Linked DNA regions of Homo sapiens: all the other regions are linked to region 1. The links are contacts of gene promoters, found by promoter capture Hi-C in blood cells and fetal thymus (Javierre and others, 2016). All regions are on one chromosome and are shown on one strand. The core of a region is centred on a gene start or on the middle of the fragment in contact, and the rest is flanking DNA. Distances in the headings are between cores, read along the strand shown. Region 1 holds the start of CNDP2 (carnosine dipeptidase 2). Region 2 overlaps ZNF516 (zinc finger protein 516). Region 3 has its middle 140 kb from the start of LINC01893.

Evidence for each region. Contacts are between HindIII fragments. The CHiCAGO score rates a contact against its expected background, and 5 or more counts as called.
Region 2: a fragment that was not itself captured here is called in contact with the fragment with the promoter of CNDP2 in region 1 in 1 of 17 cell types (activated CD4 T cells); the score reaches 5.4 in activated CD4 T cells.
Region 3: a fragment that was not itself captured here is called in contact with the fragment with the promoter of CNDP2 in region 1 in 1 of 17 cell types (endothelial precursors); the score reaches 7.0 in endothelial precursors.

What each region holds. Positions count from the first base shown.
Region 1 is chr18:74,494,544-74,498,703 of GRCh38, reverse strand. CNDP2 (carnosine dipeptidase 2) reads right to left here and starts at 2,341. Exons shown (of 12, transcript NM_018235.3): 1 at 2,273-2,341. RefSeq lists enhancers at 1,233-1,332, 1,716-2,228, 2,786-3,055 and silencers at 1,826-1,875, 2,006-2,515. The HindIII fragment of the contact is 6,969 bases long and covers 1-3,894 here.
Region 2 is chr18:76,380,679-76,384,838 of GRCh38, reverse strand. All of the region lies in intron 3 of ZNF516 (zinc finger protein 516), which reads left to right. Among named protein-coding and RNA genes, the nearest start is that of ZNF516-AS1, 110 kb to the left of the region's middle. The HindIII fragment of the contact is 8,193 bases long and covers 1-4,160 here.
Region 3 is chr18:76,342,980-76,347,139 of GRCh38, reverse strand. No RefSeq gene overlaps it. Among named protein-coding and RNA genes, the nearest start is that of LINC01893, 140 kb to the right of the region's middle. The HindIII fragment of the contact is 3,172 bases long and covers 801-3,972 here.

The DNA of each region.
Region 1 (4,160 bases), core at 1,092-3,591:
CAGTGTTAATAAATAACACTGTCATCCACCTGTTGCCAAAAATGTACGCAGGGAAGCTACCTGTTCACATTAAAGGAAATCCTATTTAGCAGGACAATATGCTACATGTGGTGATTTTCATCTGGGTTCCTGGTTATTAAATGCCACAAATCCCAAGCTCACTGTGGTACATTCTCATTAATATTATTCTCTTGTAGTCAAATTAACCAGTGGCATTGTAGCTAAAGTCACTCAAAAATATAGTCACGTGCCACATAACATTTCCATCAACAACAGCGGTGGTCCCAAAAGATTATAATGGAGCTAAAAAATTCATTTTCTGTCTAGATATGTTTAGATACACAAATACCTACCACTGTGTTACAACTGCCTACAGCATCCAGTAAAGGTACATGTACGGGTTTGTAGCCTAGGAGCAATAGGCTACACCATATAGCCTAGGTATGTAGGAGGCTGTACCATCCAGGTTTGTGTGAGCGCAGCTCAGGATGTGCACACAACAACGAATCGCCTAACAATGCATTTTCTTGGAATGTATCCCCATCCTTAAGCAACATATGACTGTAATTATCTAAGTTACGACTTTCACTAAAAGAGAGGAAACAGGGATCAGATTGTTCCACCATCAGAGATGGGCTAAAAAGCAACTCCTGTTAATCACTCATCCAGTCAAACCAGGCTAGGCCAGGTTCCAGTTTCTCCTCCCATTCACACTTCTGGGTTACTCCTGTTTCACTTCCCCCCACCTCCCCCGTTACAAAGCCATTAAATGGAACCATTTTTATATGCTCTGGAGAACACCACTAATTAAGGTAAAAGCAGTATGCTGATTTAAGCAAAAGCATTATCCTTTTAAATGACACCTCACTCCCCTCTAAAAATCTAAAGTTCATACGGAGTAACTTTATTTATTTATTTAGAGACAGGTTGTCATTCTGTCACCCAGGCAGGAGTGCATTGCTGTGATTTTGGCTCACTGCAACCTCTGTCTCCCAGGCTCAAATGATCCTCCTGCCTCAGCTTCCCAAGTAGCTGGGACTGCAGGTGCGCACCACCACACCCAGCTAATTTTTGTATTTTTTGTAGAGACGGGGTTTGCTCGTGTTACTCAGGCTGGTCTCGAACTCCTGGACTCAAGCGATCTGTCCGCCTTGGTCTCCCAAAGTGCCGAGGTTACACACATGAGCCACCATGCCTGGCAAGGGAGTAACATGATTTAAATGTTGAGACTAGTGGAGGGCAGGAGAAATTGCTGTGGCACCTGGAACCGTCAGTAGTACACACAAATGAGTCTTCTAGTTCTGAGAATCTCAGTCCCTGTCCCTTGATAATTGAAGGCATATATAACACAAATAACTGAATCACACCTTCATGTCTGATTAAGAACCAATAAAAGAATCTCCAATCTGCCCAAGCTAGAACTTGATCCCTAAGCATAATGTGGACTTCTCTTCCTCCACTCCTGCCTGCAAACATTAGGGACAAGGAAGGTATTGGTAGCAGGCCCCGGGTTCTCCGCCTCTTCCTGCAGTCTATGCTTGGATGATCTACGGAATCTGACCTTGGCAGGCGGTGGGGAGTTTGGTTTGGTGGCCCTGTCTGTGAGGACCAAATATTGTCTCTATTTCACAGATGAGGAAACTGAAGCCAATTGAATAAGACACCTGCCCCAGACCATCAAGCTGGCATGGGAATTTTGTCTCCCCTCAGACGCTTCCTCCTATAGCCTTAAACGCTGCCTCAAATGCTGGCGGGAGCTAGGGACGCTGTCCAGGGCCCTTTGAACCTGGGAGGCTTCTGTCCCGCCACACTCCCCACCCCAGGTCTCCGGGAAAGGGATCCGTTGGAGAAAGGCTGGAGTTCTCAGCAGGCCCCTGGGGAGGGGTGTGGCCTGACCAGCGCTCGGCTCCCCGCAACCCCATCTCCAACCCGGGTCGTTCCACTCGACTCCACCAGGGAGGGCCACGCAGGCTCAGGCCAAGTGCGCCGCCCAGCTTGTCCCTGCGTACCGGGGACGCGCTCGGCGCTGCTGGGACACGAGTGGCCCGGAGGTGCGAGAGGCCCCGGGGCCATGGCCGTCACGGGCCTCCGCCCCCGACCGCGCGCTCGGGAACAGCCCGGACACCATTGTTCCCGCCTGGCTGCGGCCGGGCGCCCCACGCTCCCCCACGAATGAGGCGTGACTCTCGCCGCTGACCCGGGTCCTCCCCGCCCAGCCCGTTCCCAGCTCAGGGCGCCCACCCGGGAAGGAAGGTCCATCAGGAAGACCCACCTGGGAAGGAAGGCCCACTAGGCAAGGCCCTGTTACCAGCAGCAAGCGCGGCGCCGGTTCCGTACCACGTGTCCCGGCCACGACCCCCGGCGCTGGCCCGCCCCGCGGTCGCCCTGGCCACCAACCCCGCCTTGTCCGGAGGGCAGGCATCGCCACGCCCCCGCCACGCCCACCAATCCAGCCACAGGCAGAGGGGTGGTGTCACTCTCTCCCCGCCCCATTTCCGCCCTGAGCCAGGTGCGGAAGGTGACGTCACCTCTCCCAGCTCCATTTCCGTCCCGCCCACCAATCCCGGCCTGGTCCACAAGGCTTTCGCCTCGTCGCCCCTCCCCGACGGTAGACGGGGATGTGGGCGTGGCGAGGGGGCGGAGATTTCGTGGGTTGGGATTCAGGGGAGGCAGGGCACACGGGAGCGCGTGTCCGGAGCTGTGGGCTTGTGCTGTGCTTCCCGGTTGCTCTTGGGTGGGCGGGGGGCCTGGTGCTTCAACGGTGGGGTCCGAGAAGTCGCCTGCAGTGCGGCAATGGAGTCCAAAACTAGGGGGCCCTGACTCCACCCTCTGATCTCCCAGGCTCCGGAGGTCCCACGACGCTCCCATTCCCTTGCGCATCCAGCACTGCACTTTCCGTTGCGTTTCAGTCCCGGCGGAGTCGGGGCACGGACTCCTGCGGGTCACACAAGCTCCAATGAGAGGTCGGTCTGAACTGGATTAGGAAAGCGTTCGCCAGCATCGTTACCAGTAGTGGAAATATTTTAGTATTTGTGTCCCATGACCCTAGGAACTGATGAAGGAAGCAGAGCCAGCACCGTGTTTGAGCGTCTGCGACAGCGCTTTCCTTTTTAATCTTAACAACAATTCTTGGGGGTAAAATTGTTATTCCCTAGTCTGCTCACTTTTCCAATAGAGTGTTCTCAAAAGACTTTCTTTAAACTTGTACCACTACCACATTCTTTAAGGAGTGATGGCTCGGGAGTTATTATTTTTTAAAAATGAATTTAATAGTTGTAAGAGATGTATACGTTCCCACATAAAGTAAAATGTTAAAATTGTCTCCTCCCTTAAAATTTACATGGTTTGTTTCCTCTTTTTATATTTATTTATTTATTTATTTATTTATTTATTTAGAGACAGAGTCTTGCTCTGTTGCCATGCTGGAATGCAGTAGCCCAGTCTCAGCTCACTGCAAGCTCCGCCTCCCAGGTTCAAGCCATTCTGCCTCAGCCTCCCGAGTAGCTGGGACTGCAGGTGCGCACCACCGCACCCAGCTAATTTTTGTATTTTTAGTAGAGACAGGGTTTCACCATATTGGTCAAGATGGTCTCGATTTCTTGACCTACTGATCCACCCGCCTCAGCCTCCTAAAGTGCTGGGATTACAGGCGTGAGCCACCCCGTCCCCCCCATCCCTGCCTCCTCTTTTATTTTTTATTTCTATTCCACATCCCTCATAGAATTTTGTTAAATGTAACATTTTTATACTTAATAGTCTTACTCATATCCTAATCATTTCTCTACAACAGACTATGATAAAAATTTAAATTAATATTTACTTTGCTATAACCAGATGAGATTAGGCATGTTCAGGGTGGTATGGCCATAGACACTTTGCTATAACCAAAAAGCTTTAAGTATTAACATTTTTTCTTCTGGATTAAATTCTCATAATAATTATTGTACATGAATGATAAAAAGAAAAAACTATATTACACATTTTGCAAACATTGCAAAAAGTAAACATTGGTGGAAGATACATCCTTTAATCATATCTACTGGGCTTTTAAATAAATTCGTTCAGGTATCCATAAATGAGATTATTGCTGAAAAGAGGGTTTGGTTAAAAAAAAAAACAAAACACACACACACACACACACACATATGTATATAGCAAAA
Region 2 (4,160 bases), core at 1,146-3,645, 1.9 Mb before region 1:
TGAGCACTGCCACCCAGGGGCTGTCAGATTGGTGGGGACTGAGGAGCAGAAGTGCTTTTTCTTGCAGACTTTCTCCCTGTGTGGCATGGGAGCCACGGAACCAGGCATTTCCTCAACCAGGGAGCTGGAGCCCCCTCCCCGGACACTTCTCTAGCCGAGTTCTTCCGTTTCAGGATCAGGGCCACCGAAACATCAAAAGCCACCTACGCCAGGTCCCAACTGTAGGGGGGGTGGGGGATGGGAGCTGTGGAGAGGGAGTTTGGGGGCCATGGAGGGGATGTGTGGAACCACAGAGGGGGCGTGGGGTTCGTGGAGGGGGCGTGAGAACTGTGGAGGGGGTATGGGGGCCATGGAGAAAGGTGTGCGGGTCGTGGTGGGGGCGTGGGGGGCGTGGACGGGGCGTGAGAACCGTGGAGGGAGTGGTGGGGGCTAAGGAGAAAGGGGTGCGGCCCGTGGTGGGGGTGTCGGAACCGTGGAGGGGACGTGAGAGCCGTGGAGGGAGGGGTGGGGGTGGTGGAGGGGGTATGGGGGCTGTGGAGGAAGGCGTGTGGGCCCTGGTGGGGGCGTGGGGGCCGTGGAGGGGGCACGGGTGTGTCCTGTGCCTGCTGCCACCTGTTGGGGGTGTCCTGAGGAGTTCTCATTGCCAGTGGTGGCGCTTAATTTCTCTGGGAGGTTCACCTCGCGTGTGCAGTAGATGGAGTGCACACGAGAATGGGAAGTGTAGAAAAGGGATAAATGAAAAAGTCAGAATGGCACTCAGGAACCTGAGAACAGTGGATGGGTGTCGTGGTCCCCTTGGGCCGCCTGGGAGGCCCCTCGTCTTAGTTTTGTTTTGACCTGGCTGTAACGAAACCTTGGCAGTAAGGAAACCTTGGCTGTGTCATGTGGCAGCACTTTGCGAGGCCCACTGGACTTGGCAGTAGTTTATTCCCATGATTGGAGGCCCCTGGAGGGCCCTTGTCAACCAACAGCACTGGGTCCAGGAGCCGGGGACGAGGGGCGAAGCCGTCTGTTCTGTGGCTTACTGATGATGAATGCGGGGAGCGCTTGGGCCTGCGCCTCTCTGTACACCAAGGCCTGAGGCCTGATCGGGAGCTCACTAGAGGCTTTTGCTGTTTCAGTGGCCCTGATCCTGTAATGAAGAAACCTCGGTCAGAAGAGGGTCCGGGGAAGAGGGTCCTGGGTCCCTGGCTGAGAAGGTGCCTGGTGGGGAAGAGGGTCCTGGGTCCCTGGCGAGAAGGTGCCTGGTGGGGAAGAGGGTCCTGGGTCCCTGGCTGAGAAGGTGCCTGGTGGGGAAGAGGGTCATGGGTCCCTGGCTGAGAAGGTGCCTGGTGGGGAAGAGGGTCCTGGGTCCCTGGCTGAGAAGGTGCCTGGTGTGGGGAAGAGGGTCCTGGGTCCCTGGCTGAGAAGGTGCCTGGTGGAGAAGAGGGTCCTGGGTCCCTGGCTGAGAAGGTGCCTGGTGGAGAAGAGGGTCCTGGGTCCCTGGCTGAGAAGGTGCTTGGTTCCTTGTTGCTGAGGATCCTGCGCCTCTCCAGTTAGCCACGTGTTTTCTTCCTTGGAAAGGAAGTAGGTCCTTGGAAAGCTGTTCAGTCTTTCTGCTCATCAGCTGCTTCTGCGAATAGCTTCAGTTTCCTGCCCGCTGCCCCTCCACTCGTGGTCATGCTTCTCTCCCGCCCTCCTGGGGTGGCTCGGGACTCTGTGCAGGGTCTGTGTGTTCCAGAGGCATTTTGCCGTTCACTCTCGACCGGTGACATCGATAACTTGGGCTAGACCATGCGCTTTTTTTTTTTTTTTTTTTTTTTTGAGACAGAGTCTTGCTCTGTTGCCCAGGCTGGAGTGCAGTGGCGCCATCTCGGCTCACTGCAGCCTCCCCCTCCAGGGTTCAAGGGAATCTCCTGCCTCAGCCTCGGGATTAGAGGCGCATGCCACCACGCTTGGCTAATTTTTGTATTTTTAGTAGAGACGAGGTTTTGCCATGTTGGCCAGGCTGTCCTCAAACTCCTGATCCCAAATGATCCGCTCTCCTGGGCTTCCCAAAGTGCTGGTATTACAGGTGCTGGCCACCATGCCCAGCTAATTTTTGTGTTTTTAGTAGAGACAGCATTTTGCCATGTTGGCCAGGCTGGTCTCGAACTCCTGGCCCCAAGTGATCTGCCCGCCTCGGCCTCCCAAAGTGCTGGGATTATGGGTCTGAGCCACTGTGCCTGGCTAGATTATTCACTTTTAGTTTATTACTCAGTGTCTTGGTCAGAGGTACTGGAAGTTCTAGGTGATGTTTTATGATCCTTTTGGGGAACATTTTGGAAGCCTCGACAGTCGTGCTTTGAAAACCCCACAGATGTACAGGGGCCGATGACACAGCCGCATTGTTTACACTGACAGACTCCACTAGTAGTCTTGGACATGTGTGTTCAGAAATCTGTATTCCTTTACTGCAGGGAAAACTAGATCTCTCCCTGCTGGATGTTGCCTTTTTCGAATATTTAGAAATGAGTCGAACGTACTGAGCACCATTCTGACTTAAACAAAGGCTAACGTTTCCTCTTTCATATACTTAATTCCATGTTTTTATCCGTGGTGCATCCTAGCACTGCCCAGTCTCCTTTCTCATACCACTGTGTGCGTATAACAGACTCATATACCTGACTTCATTGATTTATTTTTTATTTTAAAATTTATTTTATTATCATTATTACTGTTATTTTTTAAGATGGAGTCTTGCTCTGTTGCCCAGGCTGGAGTGCAGTGGCGTGATGTCAGCTCACTGCAACCTCCACCTCCTGGGTTCAAGCGATTCTCCTGCCTCAGCCTCCGGAGTAGCTGGGACTTCAGGCGCGTGCCACTACACCTGGCTAATTTTTGCATTTTTAGCAGAGACGGGGTTTCACCACGTTGGCCAGGCTGGTCTTGAACTCCTGACCTCAGGTGACCCACCCGCCTCGGCCCCCCATAGTGCTGGGATTGCAGGCATAAGCCACTGTGTCCAGCCTTGACTTTATTTAAATATTAGCCTTTAGGAGCCGGTAGGAGTTGGATAGTTTTTTCTTCCTTTGTCTCATCTCCGCACCAGTTCTGCTGATCAGCCCTTAACTGCTGGCGTTTTTTACATGGACAAGTCCTTTAACACGGCGTATGAATTGCGCACTAACTGCCCGCTGATTGAAAACCAGCATTTGTTACCGTGTCCCTCAGATCTGGGCAAGTGCCTTCAGTGACAGGCGCTGTCTCACCCTGATGAAGAACCCCTTGGAATGGATTTGTTACCAGTTTGTTGGGATTCCTAAGTGTTATCTCCAAATATACACTTAGAACATTTTAAAGGAACATTCTGAGTTAGCAGATCCCTCCATTTTACTGAATGTTAAAAATCTCTGAAAATCTTATTTGAAAACCAAGAACTTGGGGCCTTATACGGAGACATGGCTGTAAGGGACTGCAGATGGCGGCTGGGTGGTGAAGAATCCTGTGTTTTATAGTTCAGAGAGTTTTAAGATATCCGGAAACATCTGTACTCCTGCCCTGTTTCGATGTCTAGATTTACAGAAACCCAAGGCCGTAAATGCAAAACATAAAACCGAATTTTTGTTAATCCGTGTTGTGTCCACTTGCAGTACAGTCTCTTCTGACTTTGGAAAAGCCTTAAAACCTCCGAGCACAGCCCACACCTCGGCTGTGTTTCTCCCTGTCTCACGCGTTCCTTGGGTAAAGTGGGAGGGTTCTGACCACACCATCCCTCCCCACCGCAGAGTTCATCCCAGACTGTGGCTCAGACACGCTCTCCGTCAAGGTCCGACCATCAGGGGCGCAGAGCTTGAGGGGCGGAACCCCGGGCTCAGTTCTCCTGGGCAGCCGGCAGGTGGCGGCATGGAGGTGGATAGCGTGGCTGCCTTTGCTCACCCGCCTCTGGGGGACCTTGGGGCATCAGTGTTTTGGGCTTGAGAATTGCCCTCACAGGAGAGATGCGTAGGGAGGGAGCCCTATGGCTGAGGCGGAAGGTGGTCGGTAGCCCAGTGGTTTCGGAGGCAGACACGGGGGGTCCTTTGGACAGAGTAAGCTGTTGCCCAAGCCTGCTTCTGTGACTGTGGGCTCCACCCAACTTCTCTGGTTTTCTTACCCTGCAATGAATGATTGTGAAGATTCCACAAGAGCCCTAAATGTAG
Region 3 (4,160 bases), core at 1,137-3,636, 1.8 Mb before region 1:
ATTGTCATGGTTGAGGGACTTTGTGCCTCTGGGACTGCCGTAAGGAGCAACGGCTCCTCAGGCTGGCCCGATACAAATGACGTTTGATTCTCAGACTAAAACGAGGGCTCAGGTACTCTGGGGAGAGGATGTGCCGTGGGGCCTCCGCAGGGACCCAGTGTCCCCGGGAGCCAGGTGTGGTCCTGGCCGCCCACGGCCCCAGCCCTGAGTCTACCCCCGGGTTCTGTCCCGCTGTCCCCTGTCTGGATGGAATTCGTCTGCTCAGCTGTCTGCCTGCGTGTGGCCTCCAGTGGCTGCACCAGCCCCTGGATCTACGCGACCCTTGGCTCAGGCTGGGAGCTCACAGGCAGAGTTTATCCCTATCCCAGGCCTGGGCTCCTAAGAGAGGACGTGGCAGTCCCTGCTTACCTCTCGCAGGCCAATGGTGGGCCACAAGAGCCGCTCATGCCCCACCGGCCCGGCCCTGACTAGTCAGTTCCAGCCAACCGCTGGGGACCTTGGGCAGTGCAGGCTCAGCTGAGGCCAGGCAGGAAGGATGCCACCCTTCGGACGCAGTTCCGGAGCCCGTGGGGAGGTGGGAGGCAGGACGCAGCAGCGAGTGCCCGGCCCTTGTGTGGAACTGACTGGAGGCTCATTGGTCCCTTGTGAATGACTCCCTGACTGGATTTTCTTCACCTTTTGAAATAATAAGTATGATAGAAAGTTCTGGAAAACAGCCCTCGATGAGTCAAGTGTAGGTGGATTAGACTTCTGAGGTATTCCTAGATTTTCAAATTTAAGTATTTTTCTAGATGAAAGCTTGACAGTTAGCTCACCTATAAATACAGTGAATTTAACTAAAGCTAGAAATATTTCTGGTTTTGGGAAAGATGCATATCTTCTAATCTTGGCCACCATTTGGAAACATTTCAGAAGCCCAATAATAGACACCCTGTGTTTTTCCATATTTTGATCGACAAATACCAAATGTTGTCTCTGTCCTGGGCAGCAGGCCACATGTGATCAATGAAACACTGTCCTCCGCGAAGCACCTGTGCTTCCTGGAACACTTTCCTTGGGCCTTCGCTCAGCTTGTTGCCTCACTTCATCTGGGTCTCACAGGTCTCAGCCCCCATGCCCCTTCCCAGAGGGCAGGTACAGCTGCCCTGGCTGCTTGTGGAAGCTAGAATGCTCCCTTATCATGCTCTATCCACTTGTCTGCTGTTTTTCTTTCTAGTACTTGCCACTATGTGTCATTCATACACACACACACACACACACACACACACACACACACACAAACACACATAGGTATAGTTTATTATTTGTCTCCCACACCAGAATATAAATGCCCTAAAGGCAGAGACTGTCTTGGCCACTGCTTTATTTCATGACCTAGAAAACAAATATCCACACCACGTTGGTGGCACACAACAATGACCATGGAGGTTTGCTCACCATCATTATCACCATCATCGCCATCACCACCAATGAGCTGAGTGGTTTTGCTGACCTGGGCTGGCCAGGTCCAGGGATCACTCATGCATCTGCAGTCAGCTGCAGATCAGCGAGGGGGCATTTCTGATCATGGCTGAGCTTTCTCATGTGCCTGGGGCTCAGCTGGAGCAACTGTTGCGTTTTGGGTCTCACTCTTCAGCAGGACCCTGGTGATGAAGGCAGAGAGGCCAGACTGAGAGTGGAGATATGCAAGACGGAGACCAGCATCTGGTTCCACACACCCCATTCTGTTGGCCAAAGTAATTCCCAAAGCCAGCCTAGCGGGGAAATAGATTCCACCTCTTGACTGGATGGTCTGCAAGCAGTATTGCAAAAAATGTGAATACAGGGAAGGCTAAGGATTTGAAGGTATTTTTGTAATAAGTCTACCACAAATAATGTGCTGAGTGCAACAATAGAAGTATGCACAGTACCCTGGGAGAACAGAGGAGGCAGACTTAGCCAAACCTTAGGGTTCAGGGAAGGCTTCTGGGGAAAGCTCATGTGTGTCTATCTATGTAAATTTATAACATAAAAGATGAACTCCTAAAGCAATTCGTGAGCAAAATAAAGCTAACTAAATTCCACTAAAATCTTCCCTCTTTGATATACATGAGGACTTGCATATGGAGAGCTCTGGACCTATATGATTAGTCTTGTTCTGAATTTCTGTAATTTCTTCTCTTTTCATAGGTTTTATCTCTATAATGCCTGAGGAATCAGCCTCCTTTTCTAAAAACATTAAATCACTGTGACATGTACTAAGTTCATGTATTTTGATTAGACTTGGGGCTCAAAAGTGGTATCTTTATTTTTCTGAGATTAGCAGGTTACTTTGAATAGGTTTGTCCTTTTCTGTCTCTCTAAACTGTCTTCTGAATGACCATATTTTCCTGAGATAGGGATTCTTCCCAGGACAAGGCTGAGGTTCTGATGATACCATCATTATCTTTTTCATCACCATTATCACCATCACCTACATCATCATCACCATTATTACCATCATAATCATCAGCAGCAGCATCATACCACCACCTTCGTCATCATCACCATCACCTTCCTCATCACTGTTTTACCATAATAATCATTACCATCACTATCATCACTATTATCACCATCATCACCATTGCCATCATTACCATTACCACCATCTTCACCATCATCACCATCACCATCATCATCATGATCACTGTTATTACCATAATAATAATAATAATTGTCATCACCATCATCACCATTATCACCATCACCATCATTAGTATCACCATTATCACCCTCATCACCATCACCATCATCACTATCACCATCATCATTATCACCATCACCATCATCACCATCATCACCGTCACCATTATTATCATCATCATCATCATCAGCATCATCATTACCACCATCTTCACCATCATCACTATCACCATTATTACCATAATAATCACCATCACCATCACCGTTATTACCGTAATAATAATCACCATCATCATCACCATCACCACCATCACTATCATCATCATCACTGTTAGCATCACCACTATCTGTACCACCATCATCATCATCATAATCACCATCACCATTATCACCATCATCATCACTATCATCATTATCATCACCATCACATCATCACCATCAATCACCATCACTATCACCATTATTGCCATGATCACAATTATCATTACCATCACCATCATCACTATCATCCCATTTTCATCATCACTATCATCATTACCATTACCATTATCACCATCACCATCGTCATCACCACCATCTTCACCATCATTATTGCCATCGTCCTCATCATTACCATTATCCTCATATGTAATTCACACTGTGCTAAAATTAATTGGAAATATAGGCCAGAAGATTCATGGAGGAGGTGAGATTGAAAATAAAGATTCATGTTTGATTAGACTCATGCTTACGTCATGAAAATGTGTGAACTCTCTAAGAAGAAAATAAAGATGAAAAAGAAGTCAAAGTATCAATAGGTGATGATGCTCCTATAGGACTAAGGGAAGAGGAAATGTAGCTAGTTATGGGTTCAGATATGGAGTTGGCAGGCCTCACTAAAAGCTGAAGTTAAAGCAAACATGAATCTAGATGAGTCCATTGTGCTTTGAAATAGCCCGTCTCTGCTGATGTAGTAGGGCAGTTTCCATGGAGTGGTGGATAGAATTCAGATTGCAGCGTGCACCTATCACAGCACCAGACATCATAGGATGTCTACCGCTCAGCTGCCCTTGCACCTCAGGGAAGCCCACAGAAGTCAGGCCCTTTGCTGGACACCTGCTGGGTTTGTGATTAACCAAAATAGCAATTCCCTTTCTGCAATGTCTGATGGAGAACCAGAATTTAAATTTGCACTATTAATAGAAAGAATTTAGCAGCCACTGTAAATCAGTTATGCAATTTTAAAATGGCTTCTTGGAAGAAAATTGTCATTGGGGATTTCCAGACTATTTCTTTTATAATAGTACTACTTTAGGAAATGATGAAGAAGCTTGTTAAATGTAAGATTGCAGAGGAGAAAAAATAGTGAACTCTTCAGTTGTGATGAACTTACAATGTCACTGAAATATTTTCTTAGAAACATAATTGCAAGGCAAATAAGTGATTATAATATAAGATGTCTGGCATAGATAGGGCTGTTTATTACCTTTAGATACATTCTGGATTATATAACCATGAGT